4 separate regions of the Homo sapiens genome follow, and regions 2, 3 and 4 are each linked to region 1. Evidence: promoter capture Hi-C in 16 types of primary human blood cells and fetal thymus (Javierre and others, 2016). All regions are on one chromosome and are shown on one strand. Each heading gives the region's core, a stretch centred on a gene start or on the middle of the fragment in contact. The rest is flanking DNA. Distances are from core to core; before and after follow the strand shown.

Region 1 (3,095 bases), core at 160-2,659:
CCTACTGGGGCAGTGGGCATCTCCTGGGGTCAACGCTCAGTTATGAATACATTGCTTAAACTTGATCGTTGTGAGTTTCACACCCAGTTGGGAAAAAAGACTGGTTTGGTCAGTTGGCATTTCAGGAGTATCTAAAATATTGAAGTGTATTTAATATTTCAGTGTACTAGCTCAAGCTTTTGTGTGTTTTCATAAAAAAGTTGCTGCCAAACATATTTTGAATACCATTTGTGAGGACGTATGGCTCTTTCCACGCCTCTCAAAGGCCAGGGAAAGCAGAGTTGGAGGAAACCTCCTTTCCTCTCCTTCTAGAGAGTCATTTAAAAGTAGTGAGTACTTTGAGAAAATGCTTTTGACTCTTGGTCCCTTTTTTTGAGTATTAAATCAATTATAGCCACACAGCAAGCCTGCATCTCCATTCTTCATCCAGGGGCCACCAAAAAAAAAATAAAGCAGCTGAACAAATATAAGATTCTGTACCATTTCCACCCCCTGGCCCCCCTGCCCCCCCGCCCCCCCCACAGCAGAAATGCTGCTTGTTTTTGGTCAATGGTCAAATGATAACCTGAAAGCTCAAGTTCCTTTTTTTTTTTTTTTTTTTGAGATGGAGTTTGGCTCTTGTTGCCCAGGCTTGAGTGCAATGGCGTGATCTCGGTGCACCACAACCTCTGCCTCCCGGGTTCAAGTGATTCTCCTACTTCAGACTCCCGAGTAGCTGGGATTACAGGCATGCACCACCACGCCTGGCTAATTTTGTAATTTTAGTAGAGTTGGGGTTTCTCCACGTTAGTCAGGCTGGTCTCGAACTCCCAACCTCAGGTGATCCGCCCCCAACCACCTGAGCAATTGCAAGTTGTAAGAGCTTTGGGTCAGAAATGCAGGTGTCTTCTGATCACCCAATTGCCGGGAAAGATGCCACAACAACACAAGAGGGAGGCCACTATCAGTTCCAGCGTCATCCCCACTAGTACCACTAGGGGGTCAGGCCACTCTGGCCACCATGGAATGCTCGTATGGTAGCCCTAAGTCATGGTTTTCCATTCACAGGGACAATGTGACCAATGAAGTAAGCAGTCAATACCTTTAGGACATCAAGGTGAACCATAATTGGGACACAGAAGTTTCTGGAAGAGGTAGGCTTGGGCAAGGCGGGTGAGCAGCAGGTTGTGTTTACCAAAAATGGCCATGATGCTGCCTTCTACACTCGTGTTCTTCTGCAGTGTGACTGTGTCATTCCCGCATGCAGAAGCAGAGTCTCTCCATCCCTGGGAACCCAGGGCTGGCCTGTGGCTCCCTTGTGACTGATAGGATGGAGTAGAATCGATGCCGATGATGTCCCAGGCTGGCGTAGTGCTACAATCCGAGGCCAGGGCAGAACAGGCCTGATGCTGAGGCCTGGTTCCCTTGGAACGTTCCCTTCAGGAAGTTCCTGCTCAGAACTCCGCCTCTGTGCTGCCAGAAGCCCAAGGTACAGGAAGCAGCCAGGCACTGGGGCTCATACACAGGCTTGGCTGAACCTGGCTTCCCAGGGCAGGGGTTAAGAGGGAAGAAGCCCCTGGAGGATGTCAGCCATGGCCATTCACAGCTTCCTGGCTGAGGCTTCATCCTCTCCAAACTCCTGACTTGCAGAATCCCTGGGCATGGGAAAATGGTTCTTGTTTGATGCCATCAAATGTGGGATGCTTGTTACGCAGCATAGATAACTATGGTAAACCCCGTGTCATGGGCACTGTTGGGTGATGCAGGTCTGGGAATGGGGACATTTGGTGAGGCAAGGCCCTTTGGATTCTGGTTAGGAGAGCGAGTTCTAGAGCTGCCTAGGTTCAAATCCAGTCTCCACCACTTACCAGCTCTGTGGCAGTGGGAAAGTGACTTAACCTCTCTGTGCCTTGCACGTCTTCCTCTGTGCAATGGAGGTGATAACAGTACACACCTGGGCAGGCTGTTTGAGGACCGAGTGTTGTTAGTGCCCGAAGAGCACCAGGCTCACGGGAAACGCTCATTCCGTGGTGTCACCTCTGATGGGCACAGGCCTAGGCCTCGACTGGACGGCTGGAAGACTGTGCAGGTCTAGAGGGTGCTTAGACTTGGCAGGCAATTGTATTTTTTTGTCTCACTAACTAAACTGGGAGAAGACAGTTATCTGTCTGTCTCTCATCATCTGTGCGTTGAGAATGTGGGGCATACAGAAAATGCTGTATTTTGACTGGAAGGAGTTGCAAGTTCCTGAAAAAAGCCTGCTGGTGGAATTGAGGCTGACATCAGGCCTGAGAAGGGGAGGGGAGGGCATTGGGGAGTGAGAGGGCTGGGCCTGGGCAAACGGGTTGGTATTGCTTTAGTGGGGTGCACGCACATGTGTGTGTGTGTGTGCACATGTTTGTGCCTGTGTGTGTGTGTCTGTATGTGTGTGTGAATAGAGAGAGGTGGCCCCTAGAAAGGGTGAGAGATGCTCAGTCAAAACTCAGATGTGAGCCAGATTTAGACAATGAAGGGCCCAGTAGGCCACACTCAAGCAAGGTTGTGGCAGGGATCATGATCTGTATTAGTCCATTTTCACACTCCTGTGAAGAAATACTCAAGACTGGGTAATTTATAAAGAAAAAGAGTTTAATGCACTCACAGTTCCACATGGTGGGGGAGGCCTCCCAATCATGGTGGAAGGTGAAGGAGGAGCAAAGGCACATTTTACATGGTGGCAGGCAAGAGAGCTTGTGCGGGGAACTACCCTTCATAAAATCATCAGATCTCCTGAGACTTATTCACTATCTCGAGAACAGCAGGGGAAAGACCCGTCCCCATGATTTGATTACCTCCCACTGGGATTATGGGAGTGATAATTCAGATTTGGGTGGGGACACAGAGCCAAATCATTTCATGATCCAAGCCCACATTAGCCAGGGCAGCGGGCAGCAGGGTGGGAGACGTGGGAAGGGCACAAAAGGAAACAGAGTCAAGTCTTCTTCCAGGTGTTCTGCCTGTGCTGGGGGGGCCCTCTCACACCACCTCCTACTCAACCTGCAGGGCTGGGCTGGTGCATCAAGAGGGAGGTGGAATCTCATTCTCCCTGTGTGAGTGCACATGGAAATGTGATTTCA
Region 2 (3,095 bases), core at 409-2,908, 130 kb after region 1:
GTTCCATCCTGATATCCAGTTCCAAATAATTACCACTCTTCTAATATGGCTATTCTTTAATGTGTCACAGAACTAAGATCCTTACCAGGCAAGCTCAGGTGAGCTGGGTCTGCCAGAGCCATGAGGCCACTGTGGGCCAACAGGCCAGGGCAGTGGCTGGGGACCCGACCTTCCTCAGTTCAGCACACGTTGATCAGCCATCACATGTCAGACTCCTGGGTCTGCATGGGATATAAATGAAGAAGCGTCTGTCGGGTCCGGTCCCCTTTGAGCTCACAGACTAGATAATTGCCCTAGTTCTCCATGTTGCTTTGCTGGTGGAGATATGACTAATGGGACTTGAAATCCTCAATGATTTTTTTTTTTTTGAAATGGAGTCTTTCTCTGTTAATCAGGCTGGAGTGCGGTGGTGCGATCTCGGCTCACTGCAACCTCTGCCTCCCGGGTTGAAGCGATTCTCCTGCCTCAGCCTCCTGAGTAGTTGGGATTACAGGTGCCTGCCACCACGCCCAGCTAATTTTTTGTGTGTTTTTAGTAGAGGTGGGGTTTCACCATGTATTGGCCAGGTTGGTCCCAAACCCCTGACGTCAGGAGATCTGCCCTCCTCGGCCTCCAAAGTGCTAGGATTACAGGTGTGAGCCACTATGCCTGGCCCCTCAATGATTTTTAACAGTATGTGGGACTGAGATTGGACCAAGATTAATTGAACAGCAATTCCGTATTAATTTCTATACTACAACATTGAAATTTATGCAGATTTCATCAAGTTGAGTTGAAGTTTAACTTTGCAATATTTGGGGGCAGTGGGTGGACTGGGGAGATTTATTAAGGGAGTGACTAGTGTCAGGGAGACTGTGTAAGGGGACCTATCAGTCAACCAATAGGATGTGGATATCAAGAGATTTATTTTAAGGAATTGGCTGTGTGGTTTGGGGGGTTGGTGAGTCTGAAACTGGTGCGGTAGGCTCGAAGGCTGGAAACTCAGGCAGCAGTAAGTAGATGCCGCAGTCTTGAGGTGGAATTTCTTTGTTTCCAGGAAACCTTGGTCTTTGCTCTTAATGCCCTCAACTAATTGGGCGAGGCCCACCCGCATTATGAAGGGTAATCTCCTTGACTTAGAGTCAACTGATTATAGATGTTAACCACAGCTGCAAAATACCTTTGGGGCAACACTTAGATCCATGTTTGATTAAATCACTGGGTATTCTAGCCTAGCCAAGTTGACATAGAAAACTAAAACTGACCATCACACCAGGACTGCCAGGTGGTAGGAAGTACATTAGACTGAGGTTAGGACACCCAAGTCTTAGACCCTCTCTCTGTTACTAGCCCACAGCCACTGTGACTGCCATTCTTTTTGCAACAAGCCTTTTAAAAATTCATGCCCCCTACCCACCAGGATGAAACGTGTTGAGCAAACAAAAATGAATTTTTCTATCCTGGAAAAGCCCACCATCGGTTAAAGGTAGACAGACCCCAGCCAGCTAGGCCGCAGTGGGAGAAGCGAAGGAACCACCCATTTCCCACAGTCCAGGACCCATGGCAGTCCTCAAGAGTGAGACCACAGCTGGGGTGCCACCACTTTGCAAGTGACTGTTACTGGTCATATTTTTAGAACTTTCTAGCCACAGCATTCAAGTATGCAAGGCAGCTTTGTTGTCTGGTCATCTCTCCATTGATGGAAAGCTATAGGATCTTATTTCTTTAAAAAATTCTGTAATTTGGCCAGGCGCAGTGGCTCACGCCTGTAATCCCAGCACTTTGGGAGGCCGAGGCGGGTGGATCACCTGAGGTTGGGAGTTCGAGACTAGCCTGACCAACATGGAGAAACCCCCTCTCTACTAAAAATACAAAATTAGCCTGGCGTGGTAGCACATGCCTGTAATCCCAGCTACTCGGGAGGCTGAGGCAGGAGAGTCGCTTGAACCCGGGAGGCAGAGGTTGCGGTGAACGGAGATTGTGCCATTGCACTCCAGCCTGGGCAACAAGAGTGAAATTCTGTCTCGAAAAAAAAAATTCTGTAATTTAGGTGCTGAATTCAGGCGGGGTTTTATTCAGGACAGATAATCAATGGAGCACTTAAAAGGCAGGTTGGGCTGGGCACGGTGGCTCACGCCCGTAATCCCAGCACTTTGGAAGGCGGAGGTGGGAGGATTGCTTGAACCCAGCAGTTCGAAACCAGCCTGGGCCACATAGCCAGGCCCCATCTCTACAGAAAATTACCTGGGCGGTGGTGTAGCCCCAGCTACTCGGGAGGCTGACTTGGGGGGATGGCTTGAGCCCCGGAAGTCGAGGCTACAGTAGGACGTGTTCCCGCCACTGCACTCCAGGCCCGCCTTCCGGCGCTCAGATGAGCACAGGGTTCGCAGAGTGAACTAGGTGCAGTCTGTTAGGAGGCTTGGGGCCAGGGGTGGGGGGTGGGGGCAGTTTTGCCTTTGCCCCAGGCTCTGCCTGGGAGGGAAGAGTCCTTGTTGCCGCCACCCACTTCTGTTTGTGTTTTGCGTTTTGCAGGGGCGGATGTCCACGCGAGGGACCCCCGCCGTGGGATGTCGCCGCAGGAGTGGGCCACTTACACGGGCCGCGTGGATGCCGTCCGTCTCATGCAGAGGCTGCTGGAGCGCCCCTGCCCGGAGCAGTTCTGGGAGAAGTACCGGCCCGAGCTGCCGCCGCCCCCTGAAGCGGCGCGGAAGCCCGCGGGCTCCAAGAACTGCCTGCAGAGGCTCACAGACTGCGTGCTGTCCGTGCTGACGCCGCGCTCCGTGCGGGGCCCGGAGGACGGGGGCGTCCTGGACCACATGGTCCGGATGACCACGAGCCTCTACAGCCCCGCCGTGGCCATCGTGTGCCAGACCGTGTGCCCTGAGAGCCCTCCGAGCGTGGGGAAGAGGCGGCTGGCGGTGCAGGAGATCCTGGCGGCGCGGGCTGCACGGGGCCCCCAGGCGCAGGAGGAGGATGAGGTGGGGGGCGCGGGGCAGCGCGGGCGGACCGGACAGGAGGACGCGGACTCCCGGGAGGGCTCCCCGAGAGCCGGCCTCCCTCCCGCCCTGGGGTCCCGGGGCCCCGCAGCGCCCGCCCCGCGGAAGGCCAGCCTCCTG
Region 3 (3,095 bases), core at 382-2,881, 100 kb after region 1:
CCTCCCAAAGTGCTGGAATTACAGGCGTGAGCCGCCGGGCCTGGCCTTTTTTTTCTTTTTTACTGGCTTTTGTTATCTTCCCCTACTTACTGATTTGCTTGAGCTCTCTGTGGCCGCCACTGTGTGCACCCACCCTCTGGCCTGGGCTCTGATCCCTGGACACCCAACCTAGGCTGCTGCCTGAGGCTTTGGGACTGAATTGTTGAGGTTGCATACGGAGGCAGAGGGGAGAGGGACTTTACACCATTTAAACAAACACAGATTAAAAAGCTTCCTTGTGTGTGTCTTAATTGCCTCAATGTGCCGAAGAGATTTTCCCTAATTTCTTTCTGAACCTCCAGGGGCTGCCCCTGTCCCCATGGGCATAGTTTCCTTAGACACTGGCTCCCAATCTTGCGCCTCCGGCGTCAGCATCACCTGGGCTGGCTCATGTGAGCATTAACACAGATCTGGTGGAAACACAGACTGCCAGGCCCTGCCCCTGGAGTCTTTCTTTGAATAGGCCTGGGGTGGGGCCCAAGAATGAGCAGATCAACAGGTTTCCTGGTGAGGCTGATGCCACTGGCCCAGGGACCCCACATTGAGGATGGAGAGCTTTGAAGATTTTATGCCTGATGACGGCAAAGGACCCCTCTCAGTGGGCACTGAAGACCAGCAGAGTCACAGACCCCACGAGAGATGTTGTCAGACAGACACAGAGGCATCACGGAATTAAAGTGAAAATGAGGAAGGCAGGTGAGCATGTGTTCATGACTTTCCTGTGCTGTTTTGCCAAAGAGGCTGTTTAGGCCCAATCAGGTGATGTCCCATTTTAATCAATTTCATAACCAGTTTTATTTCTTTGATGATTTGTTAATTTCAAAAGCTGTCCATGCATATTTGCTTACAGCCAAAAATGACTACAAAAGTATTATCAGGGAGGAAGAAAAAGATCCCTTCTCTGTCTTCCAAATATTCCAGCTCCCTTATCAGCACTCAGGAGTCACCTCTTCAGACCTCATTCAGTCCTTTCCAAACACACACGTATGTATGTGCGCTTTGTATTCACATGACTGGGCTAGTGCTGTTGAGACTGTGTTTTTAGTGGTTTTGTTCACATGGTTATTAATCTAGAAGCTCCTGCTGTGTCGGTGTCCCTGAGCCCTGCCAGGCGCTCGTAGCCCTGCCTTCCTGCACGGGGATGTGTGGCTCATGCCCGGTTCCCCACCAAGACTTCAAATTTGAGAGGCTGCGTTATGACTGGCCTTCACTCACTGTGGTGGACCCGGCTCTTAGGCCAGTCCTTGAACATGAAGTACTTGCTTCTTAAATATTTGTTGGAAAAGAGGATATTGTGTAAAATGCATGAACCGTGGTATACTTAACTGTCCCAGTTACTGGACAGGTGGGCTTTTGAGTTAATCAACGGCAGCAAGGCTGTAGTGAAGTCTTTGGATCTGGGGTGCATCTCTGAGGACAGCGTGTTAGGATCCTGGCAGCTTGAAGCATGTTGAGTGACAGGTGGTCTCAGAGGGCTGAACAGAGGAGTTGATGAGGGCCTGTCAATTACGGGGGGAAGGGTAGAGTTAAGGGAACCAACATTGAAAGGATTAAGGGGAGGGACTCTGCAGAGAGTGACCCAGGCCAAGAAGCTGGAACCCGAGAGGCAGCCTCGGCCTAGAACCCGAGTGACACAGGCCAAGAAGCTGGAACCCGAGAGGCAGCCTCGGCCTAGAACCGCAGCCAGGGGCCGGAGTGGGAGGCAGGGCCAGATGTCCCGCTCCTTCCACCCTGGTCCCCTGCTGAGCCAACCCAGAAACCTCATTGGGGCGGAAACTGGGCAGGTGCTGTTGGTGCAGGTCAGCTTCCTAGGCCGAAAGCAGGGCAAGGAAGAGGAGAAGCAATGTGCAGACACACTCTTAGAACAGAATTGCTTCAGCAAGGGCTGTGCCTGTTTTAAGTGTATGCAGCTGCCAAGTGGTCTTTAGAAAGCTGTGGCGATTTCTCCTTTCCCCTGAGTGTCCAAGAGTGTTCTTGCAAGCCCTGGCTGAGATCAGTCTTTTCAGTATTTCCCTACTCAAATGAACCAAAACTCTGGTTTTCAGTTGTATTTCCCCAGCTCTCTTTTGAGCCTAGTACCTGTTAGGATGCTTTTGGCTTCAACCACAAGGACACTGCCTTCTCTTGCAACACAAGACATCTGCGGGCGATGTTGCAGGGTTGCTTCACTGAGTAGCTGGGTGATGCTGGGACCTAGAGCCACTTCTCAGAAATACATTCGCCTTTTCCTTCATGGTCCCAAGGTGGCCCCAGCTGCTAGAAGTGCCACGGCTTCACGTTGCAACACTCAGGGACATCAAGGAAGAGGAGCAAATCCCTGTCGGCGTTTCCCTTTATAAGACAGGAAAACATTTCCAGAAGGCTCCAGCAGAGTATCGTTGCCATCTCACCAACCAGGGTTGCGTCACAAGCCCGTGCCAAACCAGTGATGGAGGATGGCTTGTGTAGACAGCAGTCGCACTAAGCAGAATCAGCATTGTGAAGCGCAATCTTAAAGCAACCATATGTTTATATTATTTGCTATGGCAACTGGGTTGGTTGTCTGAGAGTTGGAAGCTCTGGGTTTCTGGAGGACACAGCATTTATGAGTACGAATTCGGATGCAAATGCCTTCATCTGCCTTTTGAGTGTTCTCTAAAAAGTCTAATTTCCTCGGCTATTTAATGCACAATAAAAATACAGCCAAATCTGTACTAGGTCTGTAAATGGAGAGAACGTTTGAAAATAAATCCCCATGTAATCCCTAAGTCTCATTTAGCCAGTCATTTCAACTTTCACCACCGCTCCACTAACAAAAATAAAATAAGATAACCAAAGAAAGGAACAAGAAGTCCCATGGATAGAGTTGTGTGTTTATTTCTGTTTCCTTGTTGTGCTTTAACAGAATAGCATGGACGTGGTAAAGTGAGGAAACGCCAGGGGTCTCTTTGAGCTGGTGATGGGATACAGCACGTGAAGCTTGTTTTGGGTATAAGGAACCTCTGATGTGTGCTTGCAACTTGTTATTTCTTGCATTTAATTGTAAAATTCTGAGGCTACGTGCTGAGAGCCAGCCT
Region 4 (3,095 bases), core at 243-2,742, 85 kb before region 1:
ACTATAAAAAATTAGGATTTTAAAATATAATGCTGCCTGTCATAGTGTATTTCTAAATTGCTCTCTTTGGGAGAAAAACATTATTATTGAATTGAGCATATAACTATATAACTATATAACTATATATATATATATATATATATATATATATATATATATATATATATATATATATATATTTTTTTTTTTTTTTTTTTTTTTTTTTTTTTGCCCCCGAGACAGAGTCTTACTCTGTTGCCCAGGCTGGAGTGCAGTGGCACGATCCTGGTTCACTGCACCCTCTGCCTCCCAGGTTCAAGCGATTCTCCTGCCTCAGCCTCCCAAGTAGCTGGTACTACAGGTGCGTGCCACCACACCTGGCTTATTTTAGTTATTTTAGTAGAGATAGGGTTTCACCATGTTGGCCAGGCTGGTCTCGGAACTCCTGACTGCAGGTGATCCGTCCTCCTTGGGCTCCCAAAGTGCTGGGATTATAGGTGTGAGCCCCCACGCCTGGCCAACTTGATTATATTAATTTTGGGTTTTTTGTTTTGTTTTGTTTTGTTTTTTAATTTTTCAAAGAATTTGTGGATCTTGGTATAAAGTCATTGGAACATATCTGTTTTAACAGCAAGAGATCCTAGGCAGATACTTCAAAAGGTTAAAAATTCTTAATCCTACAGAATTTTAAATGAATCTTATCAATGTTTTGTAAACAAACAATATGAATGGCCAAAAAATTGCCCTCCATTTTACTGGCAGGTAATTTATATTGTCTTACTTAAGAATTCTCCCCTAGTTTTTCAATTGTACTTTATCGTGTTGTTTTCAATGAGATAAGTATTTTCATAGGGAAAGCATTTTCCAGCATAATATTTGCTTGGGTAGCATCCGGGTTTTAGTATTTAACCAAGAGCCTTTTAAATATTGAAAACCCATAGTTCAGAAAATGTTAGTATTGCTGCCCTTCTTCACATAAATTTTTTTTTAAATTATACTATTATTTTGCTTAATTTTATATTGGGTTAAAACAACCTTCAAGAAGGTTAACTAGGAAAGAAGACCTTTTTGTTTTATTTTTACTATTTATATATAGAAGACAAATCAGCATTTGGTGATAGTTTTACATGACCAGTTATCAAACGGTCATAGTATGAAGTGTGCAGTTGTTCATTATTAGTAAATTATGTTTGATTTTTAAACTATTTAGTACTAATAGTTGAGATGAAAACTGAAGAAAAATGCCAATGTGACGTTTGTGTATAGCTAGCCTTAAAAAACTTCCCATGTTTTTAGGTGACTTTTTTCCCCCTCTTAGTACTCTGGAGAAACAATGAAGATGGGCCATCTCAATTCCAGATGTAAACAAAAAGTAATTTTTATTTCAACATTTAATGTAACTGCTATTATTGTGGATTCTTGTCTTGTGTATTTTCTTTCCCTTATTCAAGTAATATAGAATAACTTTCCTTAAAATGATTTGATCCAAGATACGTCATTTCTGTATTGGCAAAATGCCACTATTAAAGTGTAATTCTTGAATTTAGGTTGAATTGATGACTTTTTAAAACAAAACAAACACTGGACAGTTCTACATTGTATTGCGTTTGCGAATGTGCGTGAACACACGCACACGTGCAGGAGAATGTAGTGCCATAAGAACACTGGCGCTTTTTAAAACTTTCCAAGCTAGCTACTTATTTTCATTTTCAGGGTTGAGTACTCTAAGCTCTCTACTTACTGTGAGAAGTTTTCTACATTGTAAAATTAAAAGATTATATTTAAAATACTTCTTTAGGATGTTATTCAGCCATCAAAAAAAAACCCAACTAAAATGTCTTACCAGTAAAGTATTATTAAAAGCCTCATTTGTGGAGATTCGCTGACTTCCTTGGTTAAGCTGTCTTGTATTTACTTAATTTGTCCCCTCAACCAGGTGTTTTCTTTTCAGCCTGTTACTGTCCTGTGCCATTTTTAAAAATAGCCATCATGAGTAAGGGCTTCTTTAAAATAATCCCTGACAATATCTTTGGCATTAATACGACATAAAGACAAGACAGTATATGTATGTTTTCATTCCTGTTTTGTACGAGTGCCTCATTTTGTAGTCATGAAAGTAACATAGTACCTTAAATAAAAATGTAATGACTAATCTAAGGTCTAGGAATAACTATTGTAGAAGCTAAGTAGAACACTTAGTTTGGGGTGTCAATTTTCTATCAACGCAAACACCTTAGGGTACCCAGACCAATTTTATGTATATATATTCTGAAATGCTCCCTTTTTAATGTGGTCATTTGTTGCCTTCTAAGTTGAGAGGACAAAACTGAATAAAGTGAATGTTAATTGTAGTCTAGTTTTTTTGTTTGTTTTTGTGTTATTGCAAGATTGCTTTAAGATTGCAGAAATATGCATTATTAGCCAGCATAGATAATCCAGATGTTATAATAGGAAGGAAAAACAACTCCAGTTAAATGTGACTGTGGCGACTCCCTTTTATGTATACATTTAAATGCATAGTTGCAGAGGACACATCCCTCCCCTTCTGTCTCCCTAACTTGAACTGTAGACCGTCCTCACTGGGAAGAGTAAGGCCCCACATTTTGTGCAATAGCAAGCTACTGCCCACTTCTGCATGTCTGCTACGAGATCAGAAAGTCAGTTTCACTAAGGTTGTCTTTTAGCTGAATACTTAGAGTAAAACCAATCAAATCCATTGTACATACCTGACCATATGTCCCAGATAAAAAGGAAAGACTTGCGTGATGTTTTTTTCCTTCTGAGTGCCCTGAGGAGATCCTTTTGCTTCAGACTATTTCTAATTTTTCTTTGTTTATAGGTTCAGAATTTTTTCCATGATTGTTTTCCCCCAAACAAGTGCATTTTTAATTACTTTAAATGCAGGGGTGATAGAGGAAATGCTATTCGAACCATAGACATCTTTAATCTGTGAAGCTGAAATTTTTCAGCAAAGGAAATTGCATGGTCAAGTTCAGAAACTGGCCATTAATTTCCCCCTTCCGCTCCACAGTTCATAGCTACTCTTGTTGCAAACATGTAGTGATAAGGAGAACTAACGTATCAAGGGGCTGAGAGGGTAACGTTCCCCTCCTCCT

Evidence for each region. Contacts are between HindIII fragments. The CHiCAGO score rates a contact against its expected background, and 5 or more counts as called.
Region 2: a contact is called between a fragment that was not itself captured here and the fragment with the promoter of LINC02213 in region 1, in 1 of 17 cell types (neutrophils). The highest score is 5.3, in neutrophils.
Region 3: a fragment that was not itself captured here is called in contact with the fragment with the promoter of LINC02213 in region 1 in 7 of 17 cell types (endothelial precursors, M0 macrophages, M2 macrophages and 4 more); the score reaches 6.8 in endothelial precursors.
Region 4: a contact is called between a fragment that was not itself captured here and the fragment with the promoter of LINC02213 in region 1, in 1 of 17 cell types (neutrophils). The highest score is 5.1, in neutrophils.

The regions. Positions count from the first base shown.
Region 1 is chr5:10,520,675-10,523,769 of GRCh38, forward strand. LINC02213 (long intergenic non-protein coding RNA 2213) reads right to left here and starts at 1,410. Exons shown (of 3, transcript NR_134289.1): 1 at 1,082-1,410. The HindIII fragment of the contact is 13,630 bases long and covers 175-3,095 here.
Region 2 is chr5:10,646,755-10,649,849 of GRCh38, forward strand. ANKRD33B (ankyrin repeat domain 33B) reads left to right here. Exons shown (of 4, transcript NM_001164440.2): 4 at 2,512-3,095. Among named protein-coding and RNA genes, the nearest start is that of ANKRD33B, 84 kb to the left of the region's middle. The HindIII fragment of the contact is 8,941 bases long and covers 1-3,095 here.
Region 3 is chr5:10,624,384-10,627,478 of GRCh38, forward strand. All of the region lies in intron 2 of ANKRD33B (ankyrin repeat domain 33B), which reads left to right. Among named protein-coding and RNA genes, the nearest start is that of ANKRD33B, 62 kb to the left of the region's middle. The HindIII fragment of the contact is 2,727 bases long and covers 269-2,995 here.
Region 4 is chr5:10,435,520-10,438,614 of GRCh38, forward strand. MARCHF6 (membrane associated ring-CH-type finger 6) reads left to right here. Exons shown (of 26, transcript NM_005885.4): 26 at 1-3,095. Among named protein-coding and RNA genes, the nearest start is that of ROPN1L-AS1, 4.8 kb to the right of the region's middle. The HindIII fragment of the contact is 4,108 bases long and covers 1-3,095 here.